2 separate regions of the Homo sapiens genome follow, and region 1 is linked to region 2. Evidence: promoter capture Hi-C in human tissues and cell types (Jung and others, 2019). All regions are on one chromosome and are shown on one strand. The core of a region is centred on a gene start or on the middle of the fragment in contact, and the rest is flanking DNA. Distances in the headings are between cores, read along the strand shown.

What was found. Contacts are between HindIII fragments. The study calls those that stand out against the background at their distance.
Region 1: the fragment with the promoter of ZNF181 here is called in contact with a fragment that was not itself captured in region 2 in 5 of the 25 tissues and cell types used here (heart left ventricle, liver, lymphoblastoid cells and 2 more).

Annotation. Positions count from the first base shown.
Region 1 is chr19:34,731,624-34,737,011 of GRCh38, forward strand. ZNF181 (zinc finger protein 181) reads left to right here and starts at 2,620. Exons shown (of 4, transcript NM_001029997.4): 1 at 2,620-3,423. The coding sequence starts at 3,415. RefSeq lists enhancers at 1,468-1,527, 1,745-2,262, 1,983-2,372 and silencers at 2,653-2,702, 2,803-2,862. The HindIII fragment of the contact is 5,149 bases long and covers 1-4,412 here.
Region 2 is chr19:34,469,362-34,474,604 of GRCh38, forward strand. UBA2 (ubiquitin like modifier activating enzyme 2) reads left to right here. Exons shown (of 17, transcript NM_005499.3): 17 at 1-1,890. Among named protein-coding and RNA genes, the nearest start is that of WTIP, 9.8 kb to the right of the region's middle. The HindIII fragment of the contact is 6,218 bases long and covers 1-4,359 here.

The sequences.
Region 1 (5,388 bases), core at 1,370-3,869, 260 kb after region 2:
CGTGTTCTCCTGCAGCCCAGTGCACAGCACGCTGCTCTGCTGTGCCAGGTTGTGTTGTGTTGAGTTGTGCTGTGTCATGTGCTGTGTCACTGTTCCTGCAGACTCCCTGTCCGGGAGCTCTAGGGCCCTGACCTCTAAGAAGCCCCAGCCCCGAGCCAGCCTCAGGCAAGGTCTGCATCCCTGCTGCCTCCGCTTCCCTGGCTCAGCCTTGAAGCTCCCGCTGACCCCTCTGCCACTCACCAACCACCCATCACCCCCTACTTAGAGGCCAGGAAGCAGCAGGGGTCGTTTCCCCCTTCTCTTCACCCTTTCTCTCTTCCCTCCATTCTCCAGGACATACAACTCCAACAGAAACCAGAAATCCTGCAAATGCCCTGACCCACCCACCAACCCCAGGGCACCTCCTGCCCAGGTATTTGGCACAGGGGATGCCCTCACACCGACCCCATCATGTGCCCTCGTGGCCCCGAGGCTGTAGCATGGGATGCCTGTCTGGCCCTGGACCTGCCCTGGGCCCTGCCCTCTGCCACCGCTCACAGGACAAACCCAAACAATTGCTGTCCTCCCTCTGAAATGGTGGTCATGGGGGTGCAGGGAAGGCCTCACGTCCCTCCTGTGCCCAGGCCCCTCACCCCAACACTCTGGCTGGCTGCATCTGCTGCCCAGAGCCCTTGGTCACCAGGCGTGCAGCCTGGACCACGCTGATGGCAAGGGAGGCCCTTCCTAAGCCTAGAGGTGGTCTAAACCTTCATGGAACTGCTGGTCACAGTGCCAGCCAGAGTCCCAGGTGACGCTGAGATAGCTCAAAGTGGTGCATGGGAGATGTCTGATATCAACCCTCTCCTGGAGGTAGATGATGTCTCCAGCCTGGTGACTTCCCTGGCCTCCAGCCACCACCACCCCCAGTGTCCCCAAGGCTGAAGGTGCAAGCTTGCCCTGGCCCTGGTCCTGGCATAGAAAGTGCACGATCTGGTCATGTCATGCAGGTGAGGATACTTGTGTGCCAGGTAACCTCAGGCAGGCATGGTGGCGCTTGTGGGGCAATCCTGTAACCTGCAGTGTGGTGGGTGGGATGGGTGTGTGTGACACAGGCAGGAACTACTCCTGATGGCAGCTGACGACCCACATGTGTACTGGGTGGGTGCCAATGGGAGTAGCAGGTGAGTGGCTGAGCACAGGCAGGTGAATGAGTGACAGCTACACAAACCCCACCACTGAGCACGTCCCTCCCAGGGCAAAGCAGATCAGATCACAGGCCCAGCCCTGGGAGGCCCAGAGGAGCCTCAGGTCCTCAGGAAGGCTCCTGGCCCTCTTCGCCCTAGGAGGACCCCCCCCCCGCCCCAAGCCGGCTCCACCTGTAGCTGTGGGCGTGGGAGGGAGACAGAGCGCTCTGGCGGCCAGAGAAGGAAGGAAGATGGAGGGAGGGCGGACTTCTGCTCCCTGACGCTGCTGCTAGGCCCCCTGCGGCCCTCCTGGAGCCCACACCTTTCAGCTGCAGTCTCCCAGCCTTCGTCCCCAGGACGAAGCCCACTAAGCCAGTGCTTTTCCACTGCAGCTGGCTGTTCCGCTTGGGGAGGGTTCCCAGATTGTGCAAAGTGAGGAAGGGTCCCCTGTCCCTGCCCCGCAGGGCCCCCACTCCAGGCCTCCCCCATCTCTCCCTGTCTCTCTCAGAGGTAGAGGCAGCATTAAATTAAAATTTAATTAAAATATTAAAAATAAAGTAAAAAATTCAAATATACAACAGTAGACTGTCTGGCTTGCATACAAAGAAGGCCATTGCCCCTTTGGGTGAGCCGGGCAAGGTCAGGGTCTAAGAAGCGCCTCTGGTGAGAAGCGGTTGTCAGGCTCTGATGGCTGCGGGAGGAGTGACTCCTCCCAGGATGAGGGTCTGTGTCCTCTCAGTGCTCACTCAAGTTCCGTATTTCCAAGTCCTTCCAGGGGGCGTAACGCACGTGAGAACTGCCATTTCTGTCACAGATACGTGGCCGCATGCATTTCCAGGAAATGTCCTTGGTTCGCGAACTACAGCTGGCACAATCCAGCCCAGGGCGTTCTGTGAGCTGTAGTCTCCAGCAAGTGAATTCCAAAAAAACCTCAAAGACCTCAAAGACCATACAGGGTGGACAGCGTAGTAGCAGGGTTTGGGAAGAGAGGAGCTCTTTTGCTAGCAAAGGCGAGAGCTCGCCTGGTACAAGGTCTGCCCACGTCCCGGGAGATAAACATTAGTGTGAGCGCACGCTAGACCCAGAAGAGTTTGCCACGGCCGCACGGTTTTCTGGGAAGTGTAGTTTCTTGGTCCCGGCGCCATTGTCCTTAAAAGTAGAGGGTGGCCCTTGGTTCCGAGGTGTATCTTTCACCTCATCAGTATGACTATATGCCCCAGGACACTTCCCGCATGGTCCTAACTGCCGGGCTCTGGGACGACAGCCCCAGGCGGTTTAGTTTTTTAGGAAACCGAGATCTGTTTGCCCGCGGCGCCCCAGGTCCGCGCGGCCGCAGAGACTCCTGGGAAGTGTGGTCTTCCGGTACCTGCGGTTCGTTGCGCCTGGAATTTTGTCCCCTGCGCGGATGATTCTGGGAAATGTCGATCGGCTGTGGGCGGCGCACTGGGTCCGCCCCGCTGTAGCCTCAGGCCTGACGGCGACTCCCAGGCTCCGGGACGATTCTGGGCAGTGTCGTCCCCAGAGGTCGGCGGCCGTTGCCCGCTCACCAGCGACGCGGGGCGCCTGCGGGGACGGTGAGGCCCTGCTGAGGACTCCGGCCAGTATGAGTCCCGGGGGCGGCGGCGGGGCTCAGGCCCTGGGTCTGCCCCGCGGTGTGACCCCGGCCGGTGCCTTGGTTTTCCTGGCCTTCATGTCCTCCTATGTAAACGCGGGGTGATGACGGCGCCGACCTCTTGGCGCTGTTGTGAGAGTGAAGTGGGCGCGTGGTTAGACGCCAGCCACAGTTGTCTTTGGGTTATGTCGTCATGAAGCCGGCGCTCTACAGTTGTGTAACCTTGAACAAATGGGTTCAGTATCTTGGAATTTCAGTTTTGTCATCGTTTAAAAAATAGATCTGGAAAAATGTGAACGCACACCGTGCATAGTGGTGAAGACTGAACGAGCTGATAAAGTTTTTACCATTGTTTTATGAGGATTTTATTTACAGAGTAATTGATTTTCCTCGCAGGTGGCACCTGGTAAATGGTTAGCCCTTGCGGAGAAACACCCTGTTAGTTCCCAGGGAGAGATTGGCGCCCTGGAGAGTGATTACCAGTGTGCCTTTCCATTATGGTGTGTCACAGGTGCCGCAAGATAAGCCTGATTTTTCATGACTGCTTTTTCCTGCCCTTCTGTGCCCTCAGGACACTGCCCATCTCTAAGATAAGAGCCTGGAAAGAGGACTCTGTTGGCTGTTGGAAATTGCAGAGTAATGCCTCAGGTAGGTCGGTGTGTCCGCAAATCTTCCTGAAACACTTTATCAGGACTGTGTGTTTGCTTTGCTTCTCCTGCCTGTTCCCACCTAACCAAGTCCATTTAAGGGACTGGATCCATGGTTCCTTTCAGTATAGGAAGGACGGAGCCCACAGGAGAGCTCCAAGGTATTATCCTCCTCACCCAGTGTTCCTCTTTTCTACAGTTTTCTGCTAGAAGACTTTCTAGTCTTGCCAACATTTTAAAACTGTAATTCACAATGCAACTTTGGAATGTAAGGTTATTCGGTTTATGGTTGTCAAAACTGTACCATGTGGTCTCAAGTGAAGAGATGCTTGCAGTCATCCTTGATTCTTCCCTTTGACTTATACCTATATTCAGATCCTCTAGTTGGAGCTAAGCTATACACTGTATACAGAATCTGACCATTAGTTACCCCAGCACTACCACCACCACTACCACCCCGGTAGTGATAGCAATAAAGCCACCTGGATTATTGCGGTAGCCTCCTAGCTGGATTCCCTGCATCTGCCCTTAACCCTCATCAGTCTGTTCTCAGTACAGCTGTGACCGTGGTCCTATTGTTACATAAATTCCTGTCATTCCTCAACCTATAATTTTTCAGTGGCTCTAACTGAGTCACTTCTGCAATGACCTATTTGTACAATTAGGCCATTACCTTTCTGATCCCACCTTCCTTCTCTGCCTCCTCATTCCTGTGAGCTCTAGCCACTGTCACTAGTTGCTGTGCCATCGACGTGGAATATTCTTCCCCCACATACGCACAAACTTGCATCCTTATCTTCTTCGTGTGTTTGTTCCGTGGTTACTTTCTCAGAAAAGCTTCCCTGAATGGCTATTTGCAATCGCAGTCACCTTCCCTCGCCTAGCACTTCCACTCCTCCATCACTGCTTTGTTGTTTTCCACAGTGTGTGTCACTCACTAGCTGATGTACTGTATGTTCAGTATATGCACATGCTCATTGTCTGTTCCTGGTGGGAGGAATCTTTTTTCTTTTTTGTTGTCTGTTATAGCTTCAGTACCCAGAGGGTTACCTGGCACCAAATAGATGCTTAGTAAGTAATTGTGGAGTGAATAAGATGAGTAATGACGAACTGGTGGGGCAGAATCATGGCATGGAAGGTGAAGCTTGCATAGGAGGGGATGTGAGTAGCAGATGTACATGTTGGGTGAAGTCTGTTTTCTTGGAGAAGTTAGATAATTAGAATTGAAAAACTGGTGTGGTGGTACATGCCTGTTTTTCCAGCTATTCGGGAGGGTGATGAGTTGAGAAAATTTCTTGAACCCTGTGGTGTGCGGCTGCAGTGAGCTATGATTATGTCACTGCACTCCAGCCTGGCGGCAGAGCAAGAAAAAAGTAACAGCTAAAGTGAACTAATGCCAAAATCATTCATTGGTTCATCTTCTAAACACTTAGGAAGTATCTGTTAGGAAAAGTTGTACATGGATTTTGGTGTACACTGACACACAGGACTTCATGATCTAGTGCAGTATTGTCTAAGAGAACTTTCTGCAGTGGTGGAAGTGCTCTGCATGTGTACTGGTCAGTACAGTAGCCACCAGCCCTGTATGACTATTGAGTACTTGAACTGTGGCTTAAGCAACTGAGAAACTGAATTTTAAACTTTACTTATTTTATTTTTACATTTTAATTAATTTAAATGTATGTAGCCAAATTGCCTAGTGGCTACTGTATTGAGGATTGCAGCACTGGTAGAAAAGTAAGAAAGCATAAGAAATTAAAATAAATGCCAGGACAGATAGGCTATGTTCTTTTGGGGACAGAGATGAGTGAACACCCCAGGCTGCCCAGACAACTGAAGGGGAAGAAGGAAGCATCCCTGGCTCTAACTTGTAATAACCTGTTCATCATAAAGCTATGAGAAATGTTTTTTTGATTTGGGATAAAGGGAATTAACTAACACAGTGGCAACTCCAATTAACAGGTGA
Region 2 (5,243 bases), core at 1-2,500:
TGCTAGAACTGTTAGACACATTGCAGTATGCTGTATTGAAAGTAGGAATATAGTTTTAAAAACCCTTTGAACAAAGTGTGTGCATAACCAGTCATGAGATAAAACAACACAATGCATGTTGCCTTTTTAATGTAAATACCCGTAGGTATCATTAATAGTTTCAAAATATTGTGGTTTAGTAAAGTTGATACCTGGTTATAAATATTATGCCTTTATTTTTGGCTAGAAGAAGAATTATTTTTAGCCTAGATCTAACCATTTTCATACTCTTAACTGATTGAAACAGATTCAAAGAAGTATCGAGTGCTATGCATTGAAACTTGTTTTTAAATGTTAGATGGCACTATGTATATTAATGTAAAACAATGTTAATTTACTCAAGTTTTCAGTTTGTACCGCCTGGTATGTCTGTGTAAGAAGCCAATTTTTGTGTATTGTTACAGTTTCAGGTTATTTATATTCGATGTTTTGTAAAACTCAAATAACGACTATACTTATGGACCAAATAAATGGCATCTGCATTCTTGTTACACATGCCTGCACAGTTCCTGTTTCTGCTGCCTTATATCTACTGCAGGAATGTCAAATTCTTTTCATTAAAAAAAGAACTCGGTCGGGCACGGTGGCTCATGCCTGTAATCCCAGCACTTTGGAAGGCTGAGGCAGGTGGATCACCTGAGGTCAGTAGTTCAAGACCAACCTGGTCAACATGGTGAAACCCCATCTCTACTAAAAAAAAAAAAAAAAATTAGCCGGGCCTGGTGGCAGGCACCTGTAATTCCAGCTACTCAGGAGGCTAAGGCAGCAGAATTGCTTGAACCCGGGAGGCAGAGGTTGCAGTGAGCCAAGATTGTGCTATTGCTACTCCAGCCAGGGCGATGAGTGAAACTCCATCTCAAAAAAGGTTCAGAAGATCTCCACTGTTTGCCAAAGACGAGTACTTTCTTTTCTTTATTCTTGGAGACTTCACATGTAGGAAGAGTACTTTCTAAAATAAAGCTCTTCCTGCGTGTGGTGGTGGTGCACATCTGTGTTCCAGCTACTCAGGAGGCTGAGGCAGGAGGATGGCTGGAGCCCAGAAGTTCAAGGCCAGCCTGGGTAACATAGCAAGACCCTGTCTCTAAAAAATAAGTAAATAAAATAAAGCTTTTAATGGCAGTGGGTTTTTTGTTCGTTTTTGAGATGAAGCCTCACACTGTCATCTGGCCTGGAGTGCAGTGGCGCGATCCTGGCTCACTGCAGCCTCCGCCTTCCAGGTGCAAGCGATTCTCCTGTCTCAGCCTCCCCTGTAGCTGGGATTACAGGCGCCCTCCACCACGCTCAGCTAATTTTTTGTATTTTTAGTAGAGATGGGGTTTCACTATGTTGGCCAGGCTGGTCTGGAACTCCTGACCTCGTGATCCACCTGCCTCAGCCTCCCAAAGTGCTGGGATTACAGGCGTGAGCCACTGCGCCTGGCCTAATGGCAGTGTTTTTAAAATTTGGATTGTCAGCAGTTGGCCTTTGTTGAGAAAATGTGTGACTTTGCCCAAGCCCAGTAACTTGGAGCCTTGAATTTGAGATGCTGGAAAGGGAGTCCTTCCTCCTTTCTGCAGTGTTTGTCTGGGTTGTCCCCTAGTTTACCAAAGTCCATTTTGAATGTACCATCCCCAGCCCAACTCCAGCCTACAGATAGTGCCAGACCGCCAGTAGGTGGAGTAGCACTGTCTTCCTGGTCCCGGACCTCAGAGGGCTTTGCCTGTTAGGGTACTCTTATCACTCAGAGATGGGCCTTGAGTTTTCAGAGAACAGAAAGCCATTAAGCTGTTTCCCCTATTGTATTCATGTGCCCTTTGTGTTTCTGGCAATAATTTATTTTATATTTCAACTAAATTTTAAATTTCTAATTCATGTATTGTTCCTTGTGTAATTTGTACTGTACCATTCAGCTTATTAACCATTACTCCTTGTTTTCCACCATTTGTAAATTCAGCATGTAATCAGAGCTTTCAGAAAAACCATGTAGAAGACTGGGTGTGGTGGCTCACACCCATAAGCCTTGCACTTTGAGAGGCTGAGGCAGGAGGATCGTTTGAGCCCAGGAGTTTGAGACCAGCCTGAGCAACATGGCAAAACCCCATCTCTACAAAAAATACAAAAAGTAGCTGAGCCTGGTGGCACTTGCCTGTAGCCCCAGCTATTCGGGAGGCTGATGGAGGAGGATCGCTTGAGCCTGGGAGGCGGGGTGTGCAGTGAGCCAAGATTGTACCACTGTACTTCAGACTGGGTGACAGAATGAGACCCTGTCTCTGAAAAGAAAAAAAAAGTCATGTTGACTAAGACTCAGCCTTCTGGAGCCCCAGAGTGGAGTGACTTTCACCTGTGAGCTTCATCTGCCTTTAGGTTTTTAGAAGGTGTTTAATTTTCCTCCAGAAAATAATTTGAAACTTAACTATGTAATATAAAATGAAATATCTTAGGATGCCGTCTCACTCTTCAAACTTTTTATTCTGAAAAGCTCTCTAGAAATTTGATTTTGAAATTCTGTCCATTCTTACACATCATCCTGCCTGCCTTTATTTTTGCAGTGGTGCCGTCATAGGTCACTGCAGCCTTGACCTCCTGGCTTCAAGCAATTCTCCCTCCCCAGCCTCCTAAGTCCCTGGAACTACAGGAGCTCACCACCATGCCCAGCTAATTTTTAAAACTTCTTTTGTGGAGACGGTCTCACGTTGCCCAGGCTTGTCTCCAACTCCTGGCCTCAAGCGATCCTCCCACCTTGGCCTTGCCAAGTACTGGGATTATAGGCCCTGAGCCGCGTGCCCTGTCCTCACCCTGCTTTGTAGACACAGTTAACAATGTGTTCCCGATATTTTGTGTATGTTCTTTTGTTCTTTCCTATTTGAATGTATAGTGCATGATGATAAGTGCCAGTTAGGTCTGCGGAGTTGTTTCTAATTTGGCAGACCAGTGTTTTTCATCTTTGCATTAACTATTACTACCTTTTTCAGCAGGTTTGTTAGGAAGGCAGGTCTGACTACTAGTTGCAGGGATCCTGTACAACTAGACAGTGTACCAAAGCAAATCCAAGCTTTCCCTAGGTGCCTAGAGGGTGGAGACACTTCAGATCTTGTGTTGTATTCATGGTTTTTCCATGTAAATTGTCTCACCAGCTGGGAGCTGGGAGTAGGGCTTGCAAAGGGAGTTTCCTCAACAGCTTCTTTCCACCTCCAGCCTGAAATATGGTGTTGACAAACTGTCTTCCAGCCTCACTTGGAACAGTGTGGTGACAAGTTTACCTAGAGAATCCATTGTCCTGAAGACTACTGGCTGCTCAGCATGTGCCATGAGAGGTTCCAACATTTTAACCCATTAATGAGATAACTGACCAGGCAAAGATCACTGGATGCCAAAACCTTTCAGGTAAAAGGCTGCTGAGGAACAGAATTTTAGCACAACACTCAAATGTTGCTGCACAGGTCACTTGCAAAAGGAAAACATCAATCTTTACTTATTTTAGAGAGGGGCGTCTCGCTTTGTCCCCCAGGCCGGAGTGCAGTGATGTGATCACAGCTCACTGCAGCCTCGACTTCTCAGGCTCAAGTGATCTTCCCACCTCAGCACCCCTGAGTAGCTGGGACTGCAGATGTGAGCCACCACGCCTAATTTGGAAAACACCAATCTTCACAATTGACAGATCTGACTGCCGCCACCATAATCAAGTGATCAAACCTAGTGTCACTTATGGGACGGCCTGATGTTTCTGTGCTTCCTAAGATGATACCAAGAACACAGCAGTATCTCACCAAGAAATTGTTGACTGGAATCTAACCAAGCATCTAGACCTCCAGCTGACAGGAAATGGAGAGGGGGTAGAGGCACAAGTTAACATTTAGAAACAATCAGGTGAGCAGAATATCTGTGATATTCCGTAACTGCCAGGGCTCTTCAGTAAGTGTCATTTCAAAAAAGGAAGGAGTAGGCATTCTGGGGTTAAAAGACATTTAAGAGACAACCCAATACAATGTATGAATAATTTTTTTTGCATCCTAGTTCAACAAAAATGACTATAACAATTCTTGTAACAATTGGAAATTTGAAAATGAAACGAATATAGGTAATATAGAATTGTTTTCTTCAGTACGATAATGTGATTGTAATTATGTTCTTTTTAGTGTATTATGGGCAAATCTTCAATACCAGCAACTTTTTTTTTTTTTGAGACGTACTTGCTCTGGTGCCCAGGCTGGAGTAAAGTGGTATAATCATAGCTCATTGCAGCCTCAAACTCCTGGGCTCGAGCGATCCTCCTCCCTCAGCCTCCCACGTAGCTGGGACTGCAGGTGTTACGCCACCACGCCTGGCTAATTTTTTCAATTTTTTGTAGAAGGGGTTTTGCTCTGTTGCCCAGGCTGGTCTGAAAGTCCTGGGCTAAAGCGATCTTCCCTCCTTGGCCTCCCCCAAAGTGCTGGGATTACAGTTGTGAGCCACTGCACCTTTCTCAGGCTATATGGGGAGGAAAACAGCAAAATTAACATTTATTGAACCTAGGTACTGTGTGTGTTTCATTGTACCATTCAGCTTTGAAAACTTTCATAATAGAAGTGAATATATGTATATATATGCACACACGCACAAATGCATATATACATACACAGGCAGTCTATTTTCCTTTTGTGCCTATTTGACTTTTCCAAGTTTTATATTGAGTATGTCCTATGATTAAAGTCAGAAAGGCAATAAAGGTTATTAAACATATAAGGTGGAAAGAGAAAGTGTTAGTGGGATTCTGGGCTCAACACTGTTGAAGTCAGCTTTACCCATCCTTCTTGTTGCTAGGCTGTGACTTAGGAAGGATTCTCTTTCATTTGAGCCTCCAGAGAACTAAGCCAGGTGGTTCCCACTAGATGAATGGCCCACTCAGAGGCTGCCAGACAGCATTTAGTTGATAATAGATGTTCCTGAAAATTGTCCATCAGTGGCATACATGTCTGACGTGGACTTGGCCTACACCCAAGGAACATGGCCAAATGTAAGCCACTTACCAGCCTTTTGTAATATACAAAAACCAAAAATGTGGGCCAGGTGAGGTGGCCCATGCCTGTAATCCCAGCACTTTGGGAGGCTGAGGCAGATAGATCGCTTGAGGCCAGGAGTTCGAGACCAGTCTGGCCAACATGATGAAACCCCATCTCTACTAAAAAAATAGAAAAATTAGCTGGGTGTGGTGGTGCACACCTGTAATCCCAGCTACTTGGGAGGCT